Linked DNA regions of Homo sapiens: all the other regions are linked to region 1. Evidence: promoter capture Hi-C in human tissues and cell types (Jung and others, 2019). All regions are on one chromosome and are shown on one strand. The core of a region is centred on a gene start or on the middle of the fragment in contact, and the rest is flanking DNA. Distances in the headings are between cores, read along the strand shown. Region 1 holds the start of ADAMTS1 (ADAM metallopeptidase with thrombospondin type 1 motif 1). Region 2 has its middle 120 kb from the start of LINC00113. Region 3 has its middle 140 kb from the start of GABPA. Region 4 overlaps APP (amyloid beta precursor protein). Region 5 overlaps LINC01673 (long intergenic non-protein coding RNA 1673). Region 6 overlaps LINC01673 (long intergenic non-protein coding RNA 1673). Region 7 has its middle 20 kb from the start of LINC01673.

Evidence for each region. The method cuts DNA at HindIII sites, captures the fragments that hold promoters and counts their contacts. A contact is called where the count stands out against the background at its distance.
Region 2: a fragment that was not itself captured here is called in contact with the fragment with the promoter of ADAMTS1 in region 1 in 2 of the 25 tissues and cell types used here (dorsolateral prefrontal cortex and hippocampus).
Region 3: a contact is called between a fragment that was not itself captured here and the fragment with the promoter of ADAMTS1 in region 1, in 1 of the 25 tissues and cell types used here (dorsolateral prefrontal cortex).
Region 4: a fragment that was not itself captured here is called in contact with the fragment with the promoter of ADAMTS1 in region 1 in 1 of the 25 tissues and cell types used here (dorsolateral prefrontal cortex).
Region 5: a contact is called between a fragment that was not itself captured here and the fragment with the promoter of ADAMTS1 in region 1, in 3 of the 25 tissues and cell types used here (dorsolateral prefrontal cortex, mesendoderm cells and thymus).
Region 6: a fragment that was not itself captured here is called in contact with the fragment with the promoter of ADAMTS1 in region 1 in 1 of the 25 tissues and cell types used here (IMR-90 fibroblasts).
Region 7: a contact is called between a fragment that was not itself captured here and the fragment with the promoter of ADAMTS1 in region 1, in 4 of the 25 tissues and cell types used here (dorsolateral prefrontal cortex, heart left ventricle, lymphoblastoid cells and 1 more).

Annotation. Positions count from the first base shown.
Region 1 is chr21:26,843,476-26,847,011 of GRCh38, forward strand. ADAMTS1 (ADAM metallopeptidase with thrombospondin type 1 motif 1) reads right to left here and starts at 1,934. Exons shown (of 9, transcript NM_006988.5): 1 at 750-1,934. The coding sequence starts at 1,479. RefSeq lists enhancers at 2,118-2,718, 2,719-3,318. The HindIII fragment of the contact is 5,494 bases long and covers 1-2,944 here.
Region 2 is chr21:27,839,336-27,842,871 of GRCh38, forward strand. No RefSeq gene overlaps it. Among named protein-coding and RNA genes, the nearest start is that of LINC00113, 120 kb to the left of the region's middle. The HindIII fragment of the contact is 3,565 bases long and covers 47-3,536 here.
Region 3 is chr21:25,869,229-25,872,764 of GRCh38, forward strand. No RefSeq gene overlaps it. Among named protein-coding and RNA genes, the nearest start is that of GABPA, 140 kb to the left of the region's middle. The HindIII fragment of the contact is 8,437 bases long and covers 1-3,536 here.
Region 4 is chr21:25,889,796-25,893,331 of GRCh38, forward strand. APP (amyloid beta precursor protein) reads right to left here. Exons shown (of 18, transcript NM_000484.4): 17 at 1,927-2,073. Among named protein-coding and RNA genes, the nearest start is that of GABPA, 160 kb to the left of the region's middle. The HindIII fragment of the contact is 4,595 bases long and covers 1-3,536 here.
Region 5 is chr21:27,666,030-27,669,565 of GRCh38, forward strand. The region is part of intron 2 of LINC01673 (long intergenic non-protein coding RNA 1673); the gene reads left to right. Among named protein-coding and RNA genes, the nearest start is that of LINC01673, 29 kb to the left of the region's middle. The HindIII fragment of the contact is 4,608 bases long and covers 1-3,536 here.
Region 6 is chr21:27,648,374-27,651,909 of GRCh38, forward strand. LINC01673 (long intergenic non-protein coding RNA 1673) reads left to right here. Exons shown (of 4, transcript NR_183539.1): 2 at 292-392. Among named protein-coding and RNA genes, the nearest start is that of LINC01673, 12 kb to the left of the region's middle. The HindIII fragment of the contact is 4,098 bases long and covers 1-3,536 here.
Region 7 is chr21:27,616,677-27,620,212 of GRCh38, forward strand. No RefSeq gene overlaps it. Among named protein-coding and RNA genes, the nearest start is that of LINC01673, 20 kb to the right of the region's middle. The HindIII fragment of the contact is 5,420 bases long and covers 1-3,536 here.

The DNA of each region.
Region 1 (3,536 bases), core at 684-3,183:
AAACAAAAAGAACTGGAGAATAAGCACTGCACAGAGAGAAGGCCGTAGCAGGAAGGACCGGCAGTGACTTTCAACAGTGCTTGAGAGCAGAATTATGGCCGCGAGAGGGAGTGCAAACTGGGAGGCGGGGCAAACCCGGGAAAGACCTCCCAAGCAGGTTCTGCGAAGGGGCCCCACCGCCTTCAGCCCGCCTGGGTCAGCCTTATAAGGGGGAAAGGGGACAGAAGTCTGCAGAACAGAGATCCTAGCGTAGCCGCTCAGGGTACCTTCCCAGGTCACCATTGCTCCTCTGCCCTCTCCACATCCGCCCTCCCGTGAGCGCAGGATGCACGCACAGGCAGCGGTTACAAAACTCAGCGCAACGTTGCAACCCGCACAAAAGGCGCACACAAAATCATTAAAAAGAAATACACAGAGTGGAAAGAACTCGCACAAGCTCCAACTCGCTAAAGGTGGAAGGAGTCAGGTTACAAACTCTCCCTCCCCGGCCTAAATGCTTTGCTTTAGTTTGCAGAAAATCGTTTGTCAGTTTTTTTCTTGGTTATTCATTATTCGGGCAAATGCAAGTATGTTTTCTAGCTGAGTTCACCAATCCAAACCTCAAACCACATTCCTCCACTCCAGGCCTCCGTTCTGTCCGCGGACTTATGATCCTGCCTGCCAGCAGGAGTCTACCCTGAAGTCGCGTGGGATAGATAAAGTGAGGAGAGGAGGATGAATGGACAGACAAACGAGAGCAATTCTTCTACCTGTGGGCTGTCCTACGCCTTGCAGTGCCGGGTCCTGCGGCGACCACTGAGCCCCTTCGTCCTCGCCCTCAGTCCCTTCGTCCTCGTCTTCGGTCTCCGCTTTCCCAGTCGGCCGGGGCTCGTCGTCCACGACCCCGCACGTGCCGCCGACGTCGCCCTGCCGATTCCGCCGCAGGAGGTGGAACTGTAGTGGTGCCGGCGGCTTCTCCCCTGGGGCGGCGGTGGCGAGGCGCTCGCTGGCGGCGGGCAGCGGCTGGATGAAATACGCCTCCCCCAGCAGGTAGAAGGCGCCGCGCACGCCCTCGCAGAGGCTGAGGGCGGCAGCCGAGCTGGGATCGCCATTCACGGTGCCGGAGTAGAAGCAGTGCGCCAGGTCGGTTTCCGGAAGCGGCGTCTCGGACCCGGATTTGCGCCCCACGTTCTGGAGCGTGAAGCCGGGCGCCAAAAAGCTGCTGTCGGGCCGCAGCTCCAGATCCAGCTGCTGGTCAAAGGCGTGCAGGCGGAGGCGCGTGGTCCCGTGTCCCGGGGCGCGCTCCAGCTCCGGCACCACTAGCTCCTCGTCCTCCTCGGAGGGGCGCCCGAGTGCGTCCGACACGGCCAGTAGCGCCGCGGCGAGCAGCAGCAGCGTGGGTACTGGCCCAAAGCTCCGAGACCCCGGAGCCCGCTCCGCGTTCCCCATGTCGCTGCCCAGCTTGCGCCTTCCGAACCCCTCGGGCACAGCTCGCTGCATTGGAGCCCCAGGAGACACCGCTCGTAGCAGCGCACGGAGCGAGGGACCTTTAGTTCGGGTCGGGAGAGCAAAGCCTCGTTGGCCTGCTCTGGATTGTTAAAATTAACAATTTCTATTATTCGTTGGAAGGGCGCGCAGAGCCGGCTACAGCCGAAGCTCCCGGAGTCACTAAAAGGAGGCGCTGCAGTTCTGCCGGCGCGCGGGAAGTTTTTCTTCCAGCGCAAAGTTGGAGACACTGAGAGGCAGGCGCAGGCAGAGTGGCTCTGCTGGGACAAGAAGCGCTCTGGGGCGCCTCCGGGGCTGAGGCAACGCGGAGATTGGTGCCTGGCGCCCCTCTTCGGCCTCCGCCTTGGCTGCGATGTTGCTCACTCTGCTCAGGGCTCTCCCCTCTCCGTCCGGTAGCGCACCCTGGCTTTGCAATAGCCCCTGGCTCGGAGCCGCTTTCCAGCGAGTGCAAGAACCGGGCAGCCGAGCGGTCCTTTTATAGTGGACCAGTGAAACCCCCACCCCCACCCCACTCCTCCCCTTTGGCCCTTTTCCATCCCAAAGACGCCGCCCCCGGCTCCGTTGGTGCTAAACCGCGCTCCGCGCTGCGGGCTCGGGAGGGGGAGGGGGCAGCCTCCGCGCTGGCTCCACGCCACTGCTCGTCAATCTAGGGGCGGAAGGGGCGCTGTGACCAGCACTTTGTACTGCTGGGGCCGCTCCAGGGAGAAGACTCTCCCTTCCACCGCTTTTCTCCCTCGCCGGTTTCCTGGACCACCCTTCCTCCCCACCGCCCGGTTGCGGTAACTCAGTTACCGCGCTGGGCTGCGGTTCCCAGGAGGGAGGGTTCGGTTGGAGAACGCAGTCCCTTCTTCAACATTTCCCTATCCTGGAGCTGCCCTGGGTCTCCTTCCCTCCTCCCTCAGTTCCCTCTTCCCCAATCTAGGAGATGAGCTAGGGCTACACTTTCTAGAAAAATACCTCACCCCACTTCTCCACCTTCCCAGCCTGCCAGGAGCTCCTTAGCCGCCGCCTGCTCTCTCTTCGCCCCAGCTTTTCTAGGGAAAGCTTGGCCCTGCGCTTCCCCCAGAAAGCATGCCTGGGTGAGGGGCCAGGTGACACTTCCTACGATCTGGATTTTAAAATATGTTTGCTTATGCCTTCACCCTCCACCAACCCCCACCCCGCACGCCACCTCTTCACCAGAGACGACTTTGTGAGGGCCCGGTTTCACATTTCTGGAATGGGTGATCTGGGACGCGGCTCAATTCCCTAGAGCATAAGGAGGGAATTGCGCTTTTTCTTCTTCATTCGAGAAATGATCGGCTCCCGCCAGTCTGCGTGCTTTCACTCAACAGCAGCTGCAAGCCCTAGGCCAGCGTCGCAGAAACGGCCAGGAACCCCACTTTCCTACCCGGGGGCCAGCAGCGATCGCTGGGGCTAGCAAGCGTGCAGAGGGGGAAAGAAGGAAATCGGCTTCCTTCCCGGACCCCTCCTTCCTCTTCCTACCAGGAAGGGAAAAGGCTATATCCGCGTTACGAAAGCGAGGAGAGGTCCACCAACAGGTCCTTAGGAAAAAAAACTGAGTGGCTCTTCTCTCCAAAAAGTGGGAGGGGCTCAAGGACCCAGAGGAAGGACGTGTTTCACAGGCGGAAAGCCGCGGGGACAATGGCGAGAGCGACCGCCCTAGCCCCGGGCGGACCCGCAACCCTCACACTCGCGCGCCCCCGCGTTAGTGCTCGAACTGGTCTCCGCCTTTCCGCCCCACTCCCGTCCGGTCTCTTGGTTGGCTCCAAGTAGATCTGGGTCCTTTCCTCGCTCCTCCCCAGATCTTCCCCACTTCAGTTGGCCCCAGCCAGAAGCGTCCCTTCTAGTTCTCCCACACGTCCCTCTTACAAGCTTTCTTTTCCGGATGCTTTCCAACTTCTTTTTTCCTAGCGAGATTGCTTACTTGAAAAACAAAAACAAAAACATTGCTTTCCACTCATCAGGAAAAATCAAATGAGCAAGAATGGCAGAGAGAAGCAACTCAGCTTACTTCTGAAGGGCTTAGTAACGACCTCTAGTCCCTACAC
Region 2 (3,536 bases), core at 579-3,078, 1.0 Mb after region 1:
AACTAATCCTACGTGGATGCAATCTTTGCACTCACAATTTGTAAACTTTGAATTGATATTAGACATTAGAACACAGTAGTACGTGTTACAAGCTGCCTCTCCAAAATCAATGCCTTCACTATAGAACTTGCCTGAAGCAATGACTAAAACCAAGATTATCTCTGAACCATCAGAGATAGAAAATTCTGGGATGATTTCTACGTTTTGTGTTTTTGGAAGGATGAGTTATTGTGTCTCATTATAGATAATGAGACTCATTGTTTGGACGGCAAGTTATGGAACCCATCAACATACAAATTCTATGGTGAAAGGAACCATTACTTTAAGTGACTTATGTGCCACTTACTGAGTCAAATTAAATGATAAATCAACTGCTAAAAGAAAAAATTGCACAAACTATTTATAACCTGAAACTTGGGGCTCGACTCACTGATATGTAAGACTTATCTGCCCAAACACTAAATTTCTTGCTGTTAATGCATTTCCTTGTCTATCCACATCACTTCTTCATCTCATTGAGTCTTTGGTTTTCAGACACTCTATTATTAACTTACTCATCATCATTTCTACTCTCATAAAAAGCCTGTTTTCATTGATAGTCACTGAATAAACACATACTGAGGACCTGCCATATTTCAAAGGAAATTCACAAAGGATGAAACTGACAAGCAAGAAATGCACAGGGCCCTAAGGTGACTTGGAGGCTTTCAGATTAATGCTGTGGTAAGAGATGACATCACATTTTGAGAAATGACAAGCTTCCACTAAGAGTTAGGATTTTCTCTTTGTACTCCTCCTTTCCTACCTGTACTTTACAATTGGAATAATGACCAAGAATAACATAGAATGAAACTTGGCTTCATAAATAATAACAATTGAAAAGAAGCATTTATAGAACATTTATTAAAACTAAGTAGGTGAGCACAAACTGAATAGTTCTACTTAAAAATTAATAGACAGATATGCTTCTGTATCTTGGTAACAGATGTCTTAAGTTAAATTGACATGACATGAATTGTACTTTCAGTTACTTCAATGATGGAGTATCCATCTTTTAAAGATTACTCTGCATTGGCACCTTCAAACTAACTTGGCATTGTTCCTCTAAATGTCCTTGGCTCAAAATGTTTTACAATAAACTTCTAAGCCAGTGCAGGCAGAATCTTGGCTTTTATGGGATCTGCCTCTGCCCACTTCAGGATACGTGTTATAATAAGCAGACACGCTGTTTTTTCATTATTAATAATTTAGCATATTCTTTCATATCTACCAAACATCAACGTTTAATTCCAATTTTATTTTGTAAACACAAGTTTATGTAAACACTTTTTAATACCTGAGAATTTGCCTTGCCTTTAAAAGCAGAAGCACAGAGAAAAGAAGAAACAAGATGAAGGACTAGGTCAAAATGACTACAATTAAAGGCATTGAAATTACATTGCCAAGCTTTTTTGTTTGGTAATTATCTGCTTTGTAATTTTGGGAAAATAATCTCCCTCTTCCAATATTATGTATTATTAAATGGTAATTTTATATAGTTTATTTCTTGAGATGTTTCCTTAGTCATAATAGAAGTGAAAAAGTTCAAATGCTTAATAGCATTTCACTTTTACATTTTTTATCATCATACTTTTTATTTTTTCTCTATATCTGCGTAATTTCATTTATTTTTATACAAACAAGAAAATCACCCTGCTTTATGGAACTTCTGAGTATTTAATTCATCTTTATATCAACTTATTTTATATATGAGCAAGTAAAATGCAAATATAGAAATATGTGCCACAATTAGACATCATTTAAATTATATTTGAATGGTCAGATTTTTTTTGTCTCACTAAGCATGAACAAATGATGGTGGGTTTTCATAGAGAAGGTGTCTGGGCATTGCAAATGTGCAGAGTTCTGACAGTTCAAAGGCCTGTGCCATTGGGAAAAGCTAAAGCTGCCCAAAGTCAATTATTTACTCCTCAGCAAAGACTGTAAAGAAGCACAATGAACATGATAGTGGTCTGTAGGCCTAGTTGTGAACTAAAATAACCTAGGAAATTTTAACAGTCTCTGATGCCAAGTCTTATTGCTAAACTCTGATAATTGCTCTTAAATTCATTAAAGAATATGACACTTGAAATAAACTTGGAGGTATATTAAATACATTTACTGTTAGGAAGAATGATGTGGAATTGGCAACATTTTATTATGTGTTGAAATTAAAAGGCAATTTCTAGTTAATGACATTTTATGCAATTTCATTTCTCAACAGGGGCCTAGAAAATGAGGGCAATCTTACAACATTTATAAACATGTCGTTCGCGGTTAATTCTTAAAATATTTTTTATTATACTTTAAGTTCTGGGATACATGTGCAGAGCATGCAGGTTTGTTACATAGGTATACACATGCCATGGTGGTTCGCTGCACCCACCAACCCATCATCTACATTAGGTATTTCTCCAAATGCTATCTCACCCCTAGGCGTCCACCCCCTATAGGCACTGGTGTGTCATGTTTCCCTCTCTGGTCTTGTGTTCTTTTTGTTCGGCTCCCACTTATGAGCGAGAACATGCGGTGTTTGGTTTTCTGTTCTTGTGTTAGTCTGCTGAGAATGATGATTTCCAGCTTTATCCATGTCCCTGCAAAGGACATGAACTCACCCTTTTTTATGGCTGCATAGTATTCCATGGTGTATATGTGCCACATTTTCTTTATTCAGGGTTAATTTTATTTCTCCATTGAGTTAATCAGGCATGTCTTTCCTGAAATTAGGACTTGTCTATGATTCTGTAAGTGTACAATAAATAAATTTTAAAATAGTTTTAAAAATCACTACATTAGGAAAAAAAGAGATAAATTAATAAAGATGAAAATTTAAGTCATTGAGTCCTCCTGTAGTATCTATTATGGTATTCAAATATATATAACTTGAATTGTACTGAAAATTCAAATGCATATAAAAAATTATTTAAGAGTTGGAAATAAGACAAAAATTGGGTGAAATAGTTTTTTTCAGTTGTTTAGTGGGATTGTTTAGTTTTCTAATAATAATACAGTTATGTTTGAAAATGATTTATTATTTGCTCAGAAGCTACTATGAAATTACATATTAACTTTAAGATTTCTTCCTAAAAGAGATTATATTCCTGAAGATTATGTGTCATTGTCATTTCACATCTCCCATAGAAGTCTTATGCTAACATTCTTTTCTCCAAATGTCTAGAAATATCCAGTTTCTCAAATATTTTTGACCCATCTTTATCAACTTAACTGGTCTGTCATTAATCAGTTGAATACATTTTTGGCACATGTCTATTCTGTTTCTATGTGAATCTTTTTTTAACTTTTTGAAATTTTACTTTGAAAACAATGCCTATGTACATTGCCAAACTATGTTAAAATGAAAAGGGACAATTTTCTCACATCTTAACAGGCAATATACACAGGCATTCAAAAGATTCTAATCTATTTAACTATTTATTATTATATTGATAAGAGCATTTTTGATGTACGTGCATCACTGTTTTATTTTTCATGTATTT
Region 3 (3,536 bases), core at 711-3,210, 970 kb before region 1:
ATGTTGCCCAGGCTGGTCTTGAACTCCTGGGTTCAAGTGATCTGCCCACCTCAGCCTCCCAAAGTACTGAGGTTACAGGCATGAGCCACCGTGCCCGACCTTTCTGGAATTTTTTTTTTTTTTTTTTTTTTTTGAGATGGAGTCTCACTCAGTCGCCCACGCTGGAGTGTAGTGGTGCGTTCTTGGCTCGCTGCAAGCTCCGCCTCCTGGGTTCACACCATTCTCCTGCCTCAGCCTCCCGAGTAGCTGGTGCCGCCATCACGCCCGGCTAATTTTTGTTTTTTTTGGTATTTTTAGTAGAGACGGGGTTTCACCATGTTAGCCAGGATGGTCTCGATCTCCTGACCTCGTGATCCACCCGCCTCAGTCTCCCAAAGAGCTGGGATTACAGGTGTGAACCACCGCGTCTGGCCCTTTCTGGAATTCTTGAATCTTTAATAAGATTCTAGGCTATATGTGCCTTTGGTTGAATTCTCCTGAGTTGTTTCTATTTCTCTGAGTTTGCCATTTTTCTTCCTCTATTAAGTATCTGTATTCCAGGGTTTTGTGTAATTCACCAAAGCTTTTATAATAATTTCTAAGAACAATTTTGATCAAAGACCTAAGAAGACAAATAAAATTCTTCAGTAATAGGTATAATTTTCATCAAATGATTGCTTTCCTTTTTTTATTGTTAGGGCTCTATTGCTAAACGTGAAAGGGGAGCTGTCTCATAGATAAAACCCTCTGGTGTTCTGAAGGATGAATGGGAACAGTGGAGGCAATTTATCAGAAGCCTGTTTTTCTCTGCCAGGTCCTCCAGCCCATTTCCCCCAGGTCCATGGAGAGGAAACTCTCATAGGAAACTGACATAAACATAGACATTTCACTTTGGTCCAGCCAATCTACCATTAAGAATATTCAAATCCATTTATGAATGGATCTTGAGAAAGAAAAAATATATTGCTATGTTGGTTATTTTGTAAACGCCCAATGGGTTCACTTTGCTTGCCTAAACAGAGCCAATTTATCAAGACAGGGGAATTACAAAGGAGAAAGAATAGTTCACGCAGTGCCAGCTTTGTGGGAGACAAGAGTTTTATTGTTACTCACATCAGTCTCCCTGAGCATTCAGGGACTGGTGTTTCGAAGGATAATTTGGTGTGTAGGGACTCGAAGTGGGGAGTGCTGATTGGTTGGGTTAAAGATGAAATCATAGGAGGTCAAAGTGAGTTCTTGCTGTCTTCTGTTCCTGGGTGGGATTGCAGAATTGGTTGAGCCAGATTACCGGTCTGGGTGGTGTCAGCTGGTGCGTCGAGTGCAGGGTCTGCAAAATATCTCAAGCACTGATCTTAGGTTTTACAGTAGTGATGTTAGTCCCAGGAGCAATTTGGGGAGGTTCAGACTCTTGGAGCTGGAGGTCGCATGGCCCCTAAACTGTAGTTTCTAATCTTGTAGTTAATATGTTAGTCTTGGGAAAGGGTTATTATCAATTTTGTTTCAGAGTTAAACTATAAACTAAATTTATTCCCAAGGTTAGTTCAGCCTATGCCAAGGAATGAACAAGAACAGCTTGAAGGTTAGAAGCAAGATGGAGTCAGTTAGGTTTGATCTCTTTCACTGTCATAGTTTCCTCAGTTATAATTTTTGCAAAAGCAGTTTCACTTTCTAGTGTCTAATATTTTAGTAAGTCCTTCTCCTTCCTCCCATTTTCCTACCTTTTTGATCCTTTCTCTGTGCTACTTGCCAAAGTGTGCCAATTTCAATTCACTCATTTATTCAACAACTACTCCTTGAGCATCATCATGCACAAGGCACTAGACTAAACACTAAGGATTCATCCGTGAAGAAGACAGACAAAAAAAAATCTTGTCTTTGCGAAGTTTACGTTCTTGTGAGAGGAAGGCAATAAGCAAATAAAAGAGTAAAACATATGAGTCAGATGGTGCCCAGGAGAAAAGTGATGAAGAGAAGGATATATGAAATGCTTCTTCGTATGCTGTTAGGGCAGGGGAGAGAGTTAAGTTTTGGCAACCATGGTCAGGAAAAGCATCATCAAAATGGTGACATTTGATCAAAGACCTAAGAAGACAAGGGAATAAGGTGAACAGATAACCAGTGCGTTGCGATTTTTGGGTAGGGCTCAGTGGTGAATGCTCCTGTCTGCTCCACACGGCATCCACAGAGGCGTGGTGGTGGCAGGTGCCTGTAGTCCCAGCTACTCGGGAGGCTGAGGCAGGAAAATGGCGTGAACCCGGGAGGCGGAGCTTGCAGTGAGCCGAGATCGCGCCACTGCACTCCAGCCTGGGCGACAGAGCGAGACTCCTTCTCAAAAAAAAAAAAAAAAAAAAAAAAAAAAGATGGTCCTAATTTCAACACCTTGTATGTTAAGTCTCTGGATAAGCATTACCACCTTTAACAGTGGTTTATAAGTAAAAATTGTATTTTGCCACAAATCTGCAATTTGGGTAGGGCTCAGTGAGGAATGCTCCTGTCTCCACACAGCACTCAACAGAGGCAGCTGAGCCGAAGGATGGGGGTATGTTTCCAAGATGGCGCCCTCATGTGGCTGGTGAGTTGGTGTTGGCTGTCAGCTTGGGAGTTTGGCTGGGGGCCTCAGTTCCTCTCCATGTGCAGTGTGCACCTGTATGTGCAGGAATGGAGGAATGGAGTTATCATTTACTGAGAAGTGAAAGGCTAAAGGAGGAGCAAGACATCTGGAGTCAGATGTTGGACACATTAAGCGTGAGATGTCTGCTAAATATTCAGCAGGCAACTGGGAACCTGGAGTTCAGAATGGAAATTATAAAAAGAAATTGCCCTACCAAGGGAATTAACATCCTTGTCTTTCATTACTAGTTAATTATGCTGAGCTGACCAAGACAGGAAATGGCCATTACCCATACTTATCCCTAATAGAATGTGTATATTTATCCAAATGTGGTAGTTTTAAAACAAGTTCTTTGACATTCTTCCCATCAAGAGATGGAATCTATGTCCCCTTTCCTTGACCTAGGCAGGCATTTGTGGTTGCCTTGGAACCAACTGGGTATGACAGAAGTAATGTTATGGAACTTTTGAGGGTGAGGCATAAAAGGCAATACAGTTTCTGCCTCTCTCTTTGGGATGTTCATCCTTGAAACCCAGCCACCATGCTCTGAGAAAGCCAGGGCCACATGGAGGTGCACATTGCTTGTGGAGAGGAACTGAGGACCCCAGCCGAACTCCCAAGCTGACAGCCAACACCAACTCACCAGCCACATGAGGGCGCCATCTTGGAAACACATTCCTCATCCTTCAGTTCAGCTGCCTCTGTGAGTGCTGTGTGGAGACAGGAGCGTTCCTCACTGAGCCCTACTCAAATTGCAGATCTGTGGCAAAATACAATTTGTACTGTATAAACCGCTGTTAAAGGTGGTAATGCTTATCCAGAGACCTAACATACAAGGTGTTGAAATTAGGACCATCTTTTTTTTGTTTTTGAGAGGGAGTCTTGCTCTGTCGCCTAGGCTGGAGTACAGTGGCGCGATCTCGGCTCACTGCAAGCTCCGCCTCCC
Region 4 (3,536 bases), core at 310-2,809, 950 kb before region 1:
GAGATCATGCCACTGCACTCCAGCCTGGGTGAAAGAGCAAGACTCCATCTCAAAAAACAAAGAAACAACAACAACAAAAGAAAACAACAAAACCATGAAAAAAACCAAAACAACAACAGCAGCAAAAAAGGGGTCTTGAATTACTCAAGTATGAAGACATCTTTATTTGCTCAAATATGGAATTAAATTTTTTTAAAAATTAATTTGAGCAGAAATGAAATAAGCTGATACTAATGAAAACCTATCTTACACTGTTTTGAGGGACATAAGCTTAGATACTATCACAAAAGGTGCAATGGCCAAACATGACAGTGGGGTCATTGCTTTTATGTGCTCACACTCTGATCTATGGGTCAGTCCGTTCCTTTCCACCCTGCTGCCTGCTGTTCTCTTGGTTTCCTTCCTCACACTGCTCATCCACGTCAGTATGAATGGGGAAATGAGGCTCCACCCCAATTTCCATCAGCAGCTTCTGTTGTAGTCTGCAGAGGTTTTAATTGCTGAGCAAAATGAAATTTCTGGCTTCACCACAAATTTCATTTATTTAAACTCTGCCTGTCCTCTTCTAATCAAGAATGGTTTAGAGCCCATTTCCTTGGGGATAGTGGAATCTTCAACTCCCTAGAAACACCTGGACTTTTCTCTGATGGAAAAAGCAATGGGGGCCAGACGCGGTGGCTCACGCCTGTAATCCCAGCACTTTGGGAAGCCAAGGCGGGTGGATCACCTGAGGTCAGGAGTTCGAGACCAGCCTGACCAATATGGTGAAACCCTGTCTCTACTAAAAACAAAAATTAGCCGGGCATGGTGGCGTGTGCCCATAGTCCCAGCTACTCAGGAAGCTGAGACAAGAGAATTGCTTGAACCCAGGAGGCAGAGGTTGCAGTGAGCCAAGATCCAGCCTGGGCAACAGCGCGAGACTGTCTCAAAAAAAAAAAAAAAAAGCAATGGGGAATATGAGGGGAAATCTGGACTCTGAGCTTGACCTTGCATAATTTGAACCCTTCTGTCTCGGCCTCAGTTCCCTCATCTACAAGATGAGAAGATCAATTTGATTGGTCATCATCAATAAATCTTTCAGCTCTAAAAATTCCATAACTCTTAAAATATCGCAATTAAATGTCACACAAATTTTTCAGTTTCCCTGTGCATATAAAAGTTATGTTTACACTATACTCTCTGCAAGACAGTTTCCTAAAAAGTTGCATATACTGTGAGATTTTAACACTTTTTCCCCCATCCAAATGGCATTTCAAATGCATAAAAATAACTTATTCGTAAATTTTCTTTCTCTCTTTCTTGTTTTAGTATAGCACCTTGAAACTAAGATATTTCAGGTGGAAGTGCAGGGTAATAGGTTGCAGAACTCTCAAATAACAATCATGTATGTTTTGGTGGGCCATTTGGTATAGTGTGATTTCCTGAGAAACTTTAAAGGTAAGAGTCTGCACTGAAAAGTCACATTATTTACTATTACCTGGTTGTATTGAGAGGCCAGACTATTTAAGACAAAAGAAATCCAAGAATAAACATGTTTAGTTTTTTTGGAAAAAGCAACTTCCTACTTCTATTTTTATTTTTAACTTCTTGTACTGGTTTTTGTTGCTTGTGTTTGAAAAAAAAAAGTCTAAGAGTAATCATGCTTTTTTAAAGTCATGCATTATCATTTGTATTATTTTGATAACTTCAACACAAATTGTAAGTTGAGATAACAACACACACTCTCAATACCTTGAGCAGAATATTCACGGTAAGTTGCAATGAATGAAAACCAAAACAAGAAAGAACAACTGTAACCCAAGCATCATGGAAGCACACTGATTCGTTTTTTAAAAGAGATACTTAGCTAGTTCTTAGCAAAAAGCTAAGCCTAATTCTCTCATAGTCTTAATTCCCACTTGGAAACATGCAGTCAAGTTTACCTACCTCCACCACACCATGATGAATGGATGTGTACTGTTTCTTCTTCAGCATCACCAAGGTGATGACGATCACTGTCGCTATGACAACACCGCCCACCATGAGTCCAATGATTGCACCTTTGTTTGAACCCACATCTTCTGCAAAGAACACCTTGAAAACAAATTAAGAAAAAGAATTTTAATTTCTAAATGCAATATAATTTACAATTTATAAACGCAATTAGAAGAATTTCATTTCTTAAATGCAGGGGACATTTGGATGAGGTTATATAAAAAGTTTCAGTATATTCTCTGCCCAACTGGTTGGTCAAATATTTGATGCTTACTTTAAAAAAAAAAAAAAAAAAAGAAATCACATATTTTCCTACTAAGAATGATAATCATAGTTTATAGAAGGATGTACAACATGTGGCTTCCCCAGTTCGAGGAAGTCTACTTTCCCCACAGGTCAAAACCGAAGTCTGCAGGGACCTGAAACCCTTTGACAGGTGGAACATTTGGTGAGTGGTGGGAAGATAGCGCTTGGATCTATCAAAAGCTGGAAAGGCACGATCATACTAATGAAAGGAGGTCAGCATTTTCCTAGTCATAGCACTCTGAGCCCTGATGTGTGACTCTAAGTGACTGAGACTTAGGTGTTTTTCAACTCTGCAGATGTCCTAATTTCCTTGGAGGGACACTTTTAATGCACAGGAATAGGCATTCTGAAACAAAGGAGTTAAACAATAGAAAAAAAGATATCTTGTTACCTACTTTTAGCTATAGTAATTCTGCAGAATTCTAATTAACCTTTAGCAGTGTAATGCTTTTTAAAGCATAATGTTATTTCAAAGTGAAGTACAGGCAACAAGAATTTTAAGTCACTCATAACTCATGCTTTCTAACTATTGTCTCCAGAAACCAAAATCTGAAATGTTGCTTTATTCTTGCTCTTTATTTGGATTAAACATAAAAATAATTTTGAGAACATTGTAAAGAAGGAATAAAATTTCATTTACTGCACTACATTGCTTCATACTGTTTATAAAAGCAAGTCATTATTTTTCAACTTTATCTACTTGAATGAAATTATAGAAGCACACCACAACTTTTATCATCTTGTTATATAAGGAGTTGATCTTATGCCAGATGAAGTAAAACTAAAGCTAAATATTACCACGTTTGCTCTGCAACTTAATGAAAATACAGGCATACATAGCTTTATTGTACAGTAGTGCTTACAGATAGTATTTAAAAAAAAAAAACAAAAAGGTTTCTGGTAACCCTGCATCGAACAAGTCTATTGGTGCCATTTTTCCAACAGTGAACACAGGTTCACTTCATGTCTGTGTCACATTTTGGTAATTATTTAAATATTCAAACATTAAAAATTATTATATCTGTTTGGTGATCTGTGATCAGTGGCCTTTGATGTTACTATTTTAATTGTTTTGGAGTGTCATGAAACATGCCCATAAAGACAGCAAACTAAATCAATAAATGTTGTGTGTGTTCTGTCTGCCCCCCAAACTGGCCACTCCACCCCCTCAACTCCCAGGCTCCCTATCCCTTGAGAGACAACAATATTGAAAGTGGGCCAGTAAATAACCCTACAGTGGCCTCTTAAGTATTCAA
Region 5 (3,536 bases), core at 478-2,977, 820 kb after region 1:
CCAAGTCCTAGACCAAAAGTAGCAATAAGGTTCTAGTCTCCTCTTACTTCACGTTACCTCTGTGATTTCAGGAAAAGCAATCATCAATTTCTGGCATTAATTTTCTCACCTTGGGAAAAAAGAGGTAATATTTTGAAATAACGCACGTGGACGTGCTTTCTTGTTTCAAATGCTCCGAGGTTGGGGTTAGTGTTATTATCAAATGTTTATTGAAATCAATCAAAGTTGGCTCCTGCTCCTAGTTTTATAATGGCAATATGATAATCAATAAACCCTAGCCAGACTTAGGTTATTTACAAGCTGTGTGGAAGATTAAAGGATCCAACTATAATGACAGCATTGTTGTGATTATTACCATTATGTCAGCTAAGCAGGCAAAAACATTTTAATTTTACTTAAATGGCTACAATGAGATTAGAAAGGACACATTTTTGAAAAGGATAATATTAGAAATATATAAAAACCACTTTCCTGGAGTTGACTAAAACAAATGTTTAATTGACTCTCCATGATATGAATTATCAGTTCATATACTCCTGTTAAGTCAGTTATGATCTTTTACTGAAGCCAGTCTCCTCTTTAACTTTTTCTTCTCACTAGCTGAGTGATCCTGGATAAAGTCTTTAGCAATATAGACTTCAGCTTCTTTGTCTACACTTTGAATCTGTTGGCTTACATGCCTCTTGTTTTATTATTCTATGATTCTCTCACTCTTTATTTTGCATGGCTAAACTTGGACCAATCACATAGAGAGGAATGACATGGGCCTTTCCAGTAGATCTGATACCCTAAAGGAAGCCACTGACCACCCTTCATGATTGTAGTGCTGCATCTATGATGAAACCATTTTGTAATGAGCTTGGAATTCTTGATCACATTTTCAAAATAATATGTGTATTAGTTCATTTTCACACTGCTATAAAGAAATACCCCAAATTGGGTAATTTATAAAGGAAAGAAGTTTAATTGACTCACAGTTCTGCATGGCTGGAGAAGTCTCAGGAAACTTAAAATCATGACGGATGGCAGCTCTTCACAAGGCAGAAGGAGAGAGAAGTGTGTGACAGCGCAGGAAAAGCTACCATTTATAAAACCATCAGATCTCCTGAGAATTCACTATCATGAGAACAACATGGGGGAAACTGCTCTCATTAATCAATTCCATCTCTCCCTCGATGCATGTGGATTGCATTTCAAGATGGGATTTGGGTGGGGACATGAAGCCTAACCACATCAACATACTTCAATTTTATAATGTCTTATCTTTTGTTAATTACTGTACACATGCAAGAAGTAATTATCAATTCTATGAAAGGCAGGTTTAATCTTTAGGGACAGAAAGCAGATTAGTGTTTATCTACAGCAAAGTGTTCTGAGAAGTGATTGACTAAAAAGGTGCCAAACAAACCTTTCGGAGGTGATGATTGTGTTCTATGTCTTGATTATACTTGTGAGACCACAGGTGTATGCATTTCTTTAATCTCATCACACTATCCATTTGAAATAGGTATATTTCTTTTTATCTTATTCATACCTCAATCAAGTTGATTTAAAGAAGAAATAATACACCTAGGGTTTTTACTATTGTTGTCGTATTATCTTTCTTTTGATCTCTTCTTGGTCACATGATTAATTATAAAAATAAGAAATAGAATTCAATATCTTCATCCATGCCACAGTTGCCTATTAGAGTATGAACATATCCTTCATATATTTATCTACTCCCTCAACTTTTGATTAAAATATTTTGATGTTTAGTTTTTAGGTCAAATTACTTAATGAGCAAATTATCATGAAAATGTGTAAGTCATTTTATCATCTTTGTCTTCTCCATATGTCTATTAAAAATTTAAATATATGCAAACAAATAATGTGCCAGGAGCACACCTGGTATGTTTTAGGTGTTTAATAAATGTTGGTTGAATGAATAAACAAGCATCACTGTCCTGCCTACAGCCACATCCCTACTTTCTTTGACAATACAAATTTGCAAAATTTAAAATGTTGCACCCAGTGATGATAGAGCAAGAATATCTATTAGTAAAGGAAGTTATAATCTGAAACAAAAGCTTTTTATAAAAATAAATTGATTTATAATAAATGTAATGGCTAATAATCCTAATAATCGCCTAACTCCAGAATGCATTTCTGTCAGATGGGCTAACTTTGTTGGCTTTAGTGTCTTATTTATAAATCCATCCCTTGGGATTGTCTTATCTAGTTGTTGCTTTGCATAACATCAATTTCTTTGATGCTTTTCCATTCATGCACCCTCTTAATAGTTATCTCCTGAAATTACATTGGGATCTGGAAATCCCCTTTCAATCTTTCAAAAAATACCCTCAAATTTATTTCTAACTCATAAAAATTAATCTTCCCATTTCTGTGAGAGGATTTATGAATAAGCAGAGATATTTATTTATGTGTAACTACCAGACATTAAACTTTGCTCTGGATTTCAACAGTTTTTATTGTGTCTTTTGTTTTCACAATAATCATTGAGCCCTTTGCTGGCCAAAAGCTCTGATACCCTTAAGGAGAAATGTTTTCCTGTGGTTTTTAATAAAGAGCAGAGAAAATCTTGGTTTATGAAGATTGAGAAGTATATTCACCCTATTTAAAGTTAATTCCAACTTCCTGCCTAACTCCGTTTCAAAGGGATTTAGCTTCAAATCTTAACTTTTTTTAGAAAATATAAATGGAGAATTTAGATAAACAGTAATTGTAAAAATTTTTAAATCACAAATTGAGAGAATTTCTATAATAATACATTTATTGATATAATGTTAGCACTCCATTTAATCTGATGTAAAATAGCAGCAATAGAAAGCATGGCCACTTGGAAATCATTTTTGTGATAATGCATATGCTTCATGTATGGAAATATCTTTCTAAATGGTAATAGGAAACATTTGTTGACTGTTTACCATTATCAAGTACTATTCTTAATGTTTCACATTTGGTCTTAACAATAATCCTACATATTAGATATTATTACAAACTCTATTTCAGAGGTAGCTGAAACCCAAATAAGTCCAAGTAAGTGACCCATTGTGTAACTAGAAGTGATAGAGCTGACATGTTTAATTCCAGACAATCTGAGACCAGAGCCCTTGCTTTTAACCAATATGTGAAATAGCCTCAAAATAATACTAGAAACCTTAAATCATGCATTTAGAATCATCAAATGCATCATCAAAAGCTAGTGGATTGTTTGAGGAAAATTTTCAAAAATTGAAGGAAAGCTGAAAGAGATTTTATTTTTCCCAACAGAGAGACTTTAAAAGATAAGAAAGATAATGCTGTTATTTCTTATTAAAAGGTATATGATCAATTCTCACCAATACCACCAATATCACCAATAGATAATGAGGACTGGAACTCTTTATCTCTAAAAGATGACCTGAAACACTATGGAAAAGGAAGATGCATTACAACACACTATCAAAGCATCATTTTCAGATACACTGAGTCCATCTTCTCATGGACATGATGACATAGGTACCATCATACTGCCCATATCGTGCTACCTCCTC
Region 6 (3,536 bases), core at 407-2,906, 800 kb after region 1:
AGTGAATATTAGCAGATTTTACCATATTATAAATTTTTCAAACATAATTATATGAACATTAAAACTAAAGATTATAAAGTGACAAGTATTGTAGTTCATGAAATTCTTTCCAGAACATGCCTGACTAGACAATAAGCACACACACTAAATATTCACTGTTGTAACTTAAGATGATAGCTTGTACACAAAAACATTGAAGAGTTTTGAGATAATTTTGAAAATACCTAAATAAGCAATATTTACATATTATGGCTCAGGGAATAGATATTAACAAAAATTATCCTCTCTCAGGCCACTGTCTAGACCACAGGAAACCTGGTCAACAACATATGGGATGTCACCAGATTCAGACTCAGAAGTTTCCATAATGCCGTTGCCAACAGCTAGACACAGTGAGTCATGGGGGCCCCAGTAACCAAACTCTCATCACACACAGGCTGTTTAGATAGTGATGGAACTAACATGAAATAAAATCAGGCCAAATAACATCTTAAGGTTCTAAAGAAATATTTTAGATTCAACAGATCTTCTAAATTCAGCAGTATCCAGAAAGTTTTGCCAGAGCAAGAGAAGTATAATAAATTAGAAACAAGTTACTTTCCGCAACTCAGGTTGCTTTGAAAAAGAAATTATTACAAGAAAAGGATTTAATCTAGACAGTTACAGGTAGTCACATCCATGTCAATATTTATATCTCTGTCTATATAGTAAGCTTGATATCTGTGTACATCAGTGAATAATAGTACCTACCTCAAATGAAATTAAATAAAAAACAAATGAGATACCACAATTGAAGTTGATTAGCATGTTAGTTGTGTAAACAGTCACATGTGAGCACAAGTGTGCACACACTACTTTTATTGGGTCCTTATATTTCTTGGAAAAAAATTACATTTATATTTACCAGAGGAGCAGAGTTATAAAACATAGCAATATGCTATTCCACATACAACAATAAGCATGTCTTGGAAGGCAAGCTAGATCAAAAACTGACGTATAAGATGGAGTTTAGAAATCAACTGTAATTATATGTCTGGAAAATTCATGCACTTTAGGGAAATCTAGCTCCTGCCAGCTTTATTTGTATGCTGTGATTTATCTTAAAGTAACGTCATGCCTCATGCCAGTGACTGATTCAACACATAACATTCTACAAGTCACAGGAGTCCATTCAGGAAGGAACGATATGTGACTCACTCACTATCATGAGAACAGCAAGAGGGAATAATCACCATAATCAGCACCTCCCACCAGACCCCTCCTCCAATTCCACATGGAGGAAGAATTTGGGCAGGGACATAAATCCAAACCATATCAACCGTGCTTTTACATAACCTACCTTTGTCACCCAGATTTTCAGTAAAACTTTCCCTCATTCATCACCAATGTGTTCAAGGCACTTCAGGGAGAAAAGTATTTCAATATATTATTTAGAAAGGGAAGAATAAGTTCAAAATACATGAACCTGATATGGATACTGGTCAGGAGAAAACAAACCCACTGGACAAACTTGGAAAGACAGGGGAGGTTTTTTGCACATGAGTGGGGACAATGTTTCATGACTCGGATGAGCTGATGAGTTGGATGATGTTTCACGAGTTGGATGAGTAGGGAATAAACATAGCAGATCTAAGGAAACAGGAACACACTGCACATACAGTGTATGTGTAATTATGCACATACAGCAGCTGTAAAATGTAGTCTATCCAGTGGGAAATAAGATTCTTTAAATGTAAATATTCTCTAAAAGGCACGTTACTTACCTGAAGTTTTTCTGATTTGAACATGTATGTTCTTAGTTGCAAGTATTGGTTGAGTCACATAGTTCATGTATAAGTGTATATAAGGGGTGTGAAATGGGGATATAATAAACATAAGAAATGTATATAAATACTCTTCTCTATATGATAAAACTAAACATATTCCAATATACAATTCTTATGTACATCTAATATGGAAACAGTACAACAAAGATAATATAATATAGTCCACTCACTACTCACCAAAGAGATGGTGAGAATCCTAATCTAGAAGAACCAATAGAAAAATAATAGTGCGTTATGCTCATCTTCTCTTTTTCGTATTATGTCCTCTGCTAATTCTTAAACTTTATAGCACTATCATTACATGTAATCTGCACATTTTATAGTTTTTACTATAACTTACAGTTTGATTTTAGAGTTGAAAGGCACATAAATCATTTTAAGTAGAGTATTTACACAGATTTTATTTCTACCTACTATGAAGTGCAAAATGCCAATAGCATACTTTCCTGACTAACCGGGGGTAGCTTTTCTTTTATTCTTTGTCCCTGGAAATCACTCAGACACTGGTGTTCCATGAAGTACCTAGTTAGGGAGTGTACCTAGTTAGGGACTGTTCTCATGCTGCTAATAAAGATATAATTGAGAATGGGAAATTTATAAAGAAAAAGAGGTTTAATGGACTCACAGTTTCACATGGCTGAGGTGGCCTCAATCATGGCGGAAAATGAAGGAGGAGCAAAGGCACATCTTACATGGCAGCAAAGAGAGCATGTGCAAGGGAATTTCCCTTTATAAAATCATCAGATCTCATGAGACTTAATCACTATCACAAGAACAGCATGGGAAAAACCTCCCCATGATTCAATTACCTCCTACTGGGTCCCTCCTACAACAGGTACCATCTTCAGTTAAAATACCTACATTAACCAGCCACATTCCCTCTGAACAAGGGCTTAAACTTAGAAAAATATGATGACAAGTAGGACTGCACTGCAAGCAAGAAAAATAAAATATGATTTCTAACTTTTCCATTCCTTCGTGTTGGAAATAAAAAAATAATAAATCATTGTTACTGATGCCAGATTTTGTGTAAAGAGTTAATGCTTATGTGAATCAAAATAGATTTATAAACCTTTCAACACTGCAGCTTGGCCTTAGAACCTTTCCTGAGATACCTCCTTTTTTTTGTGAAAGCAGATGGCACACATATATGCAAATTAAAAATAGACTTTGGTTATAAAACAAAAAAATAAGATTCAACAAGCTCAACTTAAATTATTAGCTCAGCACAGGCGAGTCCAACAGTAGCTATCATTAAATTCAGACCGGCCCACCATTGTAAGAAAGACAGTAATAGTTATGCAGTATCTGCAAGGCATTTTGAATCCATTACATAAAAATGTGTGCTTGGAATACTATGCTATAGTAAGCATTATGAGACTATGCCCACTTTTACCCTGAGGAGTGTAATTAAGTGCAATGCTCAAATGAATGGTTTGCAGTGACATGTATTATCCTCCTAAGCTGGCTCAAAAGAAGCTCTGAGTCTGTGCTATAGCACTCACTTCTACCTATCTTTAACATGTATTATGTTCCCTTAAGCCTCTGGGAACGATTCAATGAAAATGTGTTGCTTGCCTCAGTTCACATTATCTTATGGCAGCCACAAACCTTAGACTATTTTTACACAGATTCTCAGTTTTCCTAGTTGAAATATAAGACTATTAAAATGAGAAGAAACTAATTGAATACAGCAGATCATTTTATGTA
Region 7 (3,536 bases), core at 453-2,952, 770 kb after region 1:
TCATTAGTTGAAAAATACGTATTTTAAAATTTCACTTGAGACTTCCTTCACCCATGTTATCTAAAAGTGTATTGTTTAATCTCCAGATTTTATATGATTTTTAATCTATCTTTTGGTTTCTAATTGATTTCATTGTGGTATGAGAAAACACTTCGCAGGATTTCTGTTATTTTAAATTTGTTAAGTTTTATTTTGTGGCCCACAATGTGGTCTATCTTGGTGAATGTTCTCTGTGAGCTATGGGAGAACACATATTATCTTGTTTGTTGATGGAGTACTTTCTAAATGTCAATTAGACTAACTTGGTTAACACTACTGTTAAAGTCAACTATACACTTACTGGTTTTTTGCCTGTCTGATCTATCAATAATACAAAGGTATTGAGGTCTCTTCTATGGACTGAATGTTTGTGGCCTCCCACCCCACAATTCTTATGTTAAAAAACTAATCCCCAGTGTGAATTTGGAGGTGGTTAGGCCATGAGGGTTTCTCCCTAATAAATGGGACTACTGCTCTTATAAAAGACTCCAGAGACCTCCCTTACCCTTTCACCATGTAATACACTGAATATGTGGCTATTTATGAGCCAGGAAGAAGTGTGGGTGGGGGGCTTTCACACGACAACGTATCTGCTGAAATCTGGATTTTGGACTTCTCAGCCTCTGGAAATGTGAGAAATAAATTTGTATTACTTATAAGCCACCCAGTTTATGGTGTTACTGTTTTAGCAGCCTGAACAGACTAAGTTTCTAACTATAACAATAGTTATATTGTTAGTTGGGCAAATAGTTGGATTCATCTATTGTTTCTTGTAGTTCTTTCAGTTCTTGCATTCTGTTGTTAAATGCAGACATGCTAAGTATTATTTATCTTTAAGAGAGTTTATTTCTTTATCACTGTTTAACACTCCTTTTTATCTTTAATACTCTCTTGTTCTGAAGTCAGCTGTGTCTTAAATCAATGTAGTTGTTTCAGCTTTCTTTTAGTTATTGTTAGCATGGTGTATCTTTCTCCATTCATTTAATTTTAATTTCTATGGGTCATTATATTTACAGTGGATTTCCTGTAGGCAATATATAGTTGGGCCATTTTATTTTTTGTCCACTCTGACAATCTTTTTATTTTGTGTGTTTAGACCATTAACATTTAAAGTGATTATTAATATAGTTGCATTAACATCTACCATGTTTGTAACTGATATTCATTGCATTTGTTCTGTTTCTTTCCTGCCACACTATTTTTCTGCCTTATATGACTTTAATTGAGCATTATATATGATTTCATTTTATTTCTTCTCTTAGCATGTCAATTGTACTTTAAAATACTCTGCTAATTAAAGTATTAAAATGCTTTACTCTATTGTTGCCATAGAGTTCTTTATATATAATACATTTTTACCCACTGAAAATCCACCTGCAAATAAGACAGTAATATTTCACATGTAGTGCGGGTAACTTCTAACAAAGTATTTCTAATTCCCCCTCCCACCTTTTATAAAATTACTATGATTCTTTTCACTTATGTATATGCCAGAATTTTGGAATGCATGATTCCTATTATTGTTTTAAAGTTGTTATTAAAAATGATAAAAAAATGAAAAGAAGTATTTTAACTTTTTTTGTTCATTTACTGCCATTCTTCTTTTCTTTATGTAGATATAACTGTCTGACCTGTGTGCATTTTAATCTCCCTAAATAATTTTATTTTGACATTTCTGCGAATTGGGCAGATCTGATAATTATGAACTCGCTTAGTATTGTCTTCTGAGGAAGGCTTTATTCTCTATTTCTGAAGCATAATGTTACTGGATAAAGAATTCTGACTTGGTAACAACTTTCTTTAAATACGCTAAGTAATTCACTGCACCTTCTTTTTGGATCACTTCTAATATCTAATATACTTTTTATTCCTATTATTCTATAGTATTATTGTTTTCCTCTGGCTTCTTTCAAGATTTTATCTTTGTTTGATTTTCTGCAGTTTGAATACATTATGCCTATATATACATTTTTTAGGTATATCCTGCTTGAAATTTTCTGACCTTTCTGGATCTGTGGTTTAGTGTTTGTCATTGATATGGTTTGGCTGTGTCCCCACCCAAATCTCATCTTGGCGTGTAGTTCCCATAATCCCCATGTGTTGTGGGAGGGACTTGGTGGGAGGTAATTGAATTATGGTGGTGGTTTCCCCCTCACTATTCTCATGATAGTAAGTTCTCACAATATTTGATGGTTTCAGAGGGGGCTTCCCCATTTGCTTTGTTCTCATTCTTCTCTCTCCTGCCACCATGTGAAGAATGAAGTGTTGCTTCTGTGAGTCAATTAAACCTCTTTCCTCTATAAATTACTCAGTCTTGAGTATAGCTTCATTGGCAGAGTGAGAACGAACTAATACAGTCATCCATTTTTTAAAGTCTTGGCCAATTTCATTTTAAATTTGTCTTATTTAATTCTTTCTTCCCTTTATGTTTTTCCAATTATGTATATTATATCTTTTTAACTTGTCCTACAGTTCTTAGATATTCTGTCTTTTTATTTTATTGTCAGTTTCTTTTTTCTCTTTGCATTTCATTTAGGAGGTTTCTATAGCCACATGATCCAGCTCACTGATTCTTTTCTCAGCTGTGTCGAGTCTGCTGATGAGCTAATCAAAGCCATTCTTCATTTAGATTGGTGATTTTTATTTCTATCATTTTCTTTTACTTTATTATAATATTTTTATAGCTTTTTTACATTACCTACCTGTTCTTTTACATTGTTAGTTTTTTTTCCATTAGAGCTTATAATGGGTTAATTACAGTTATTTTAAATTCCTTCTCTGATAATTTCAATATCAGTGTCATATCTGTGTCTGTTTCTGATGTTTGCCTTGTGTCTTCAGACTGTGGGGTTTTTTTCTTGCCTTTTATCATGCTTTTATTTTTTGTTTAAATCTGGACCTCATGTATTGGGTAATAGGAACTGAGATAAATAGTCCTTTAGTGAAATGGTTTATGGTGATCTGGCTAAAAATTGAGCTTTGTTTATTGTGTGCCATAGGCGTAGGTACCAGAAGCTTCAAATTTCTTTAGTCTGTTTGATTTTGTCTTCCCTGTTGTCTCTGAGATTTGCTAAGAACTCATCCTTAGATAAAGTTTTGTCATGCAGCAATTTTGTCTGTAATCCACTATTGGTAACCTGGATCCTTGCTGGTATTGGGGTAAGGTGTGAGGGAGGGTAAGTTTTCCATAATATCATGATTAAATCTCAGTATTTTAACTAGTATCTCACCTTCACAACTACTTCTTGGCATTTACTTCACCATTAGGTGAAACAGGAAGGCTAGAATGGGCTGGAGAAGGGCAAATACACTTTCCCATGGAGAGAAGGCCTTTGCTGTCAAAAACATTCTAGATGTATTTAACAATGGCTCCTTTTCTTTATCCCTTCCAGAGCCACATATGAAGATTTTTTGACTCTTCACCATAAGATGTAGGTGCAGTTCCTGGAGATTGAACCCATGAAAGTGTAGGGAACCCCTTAGACTGTGACCTTCAG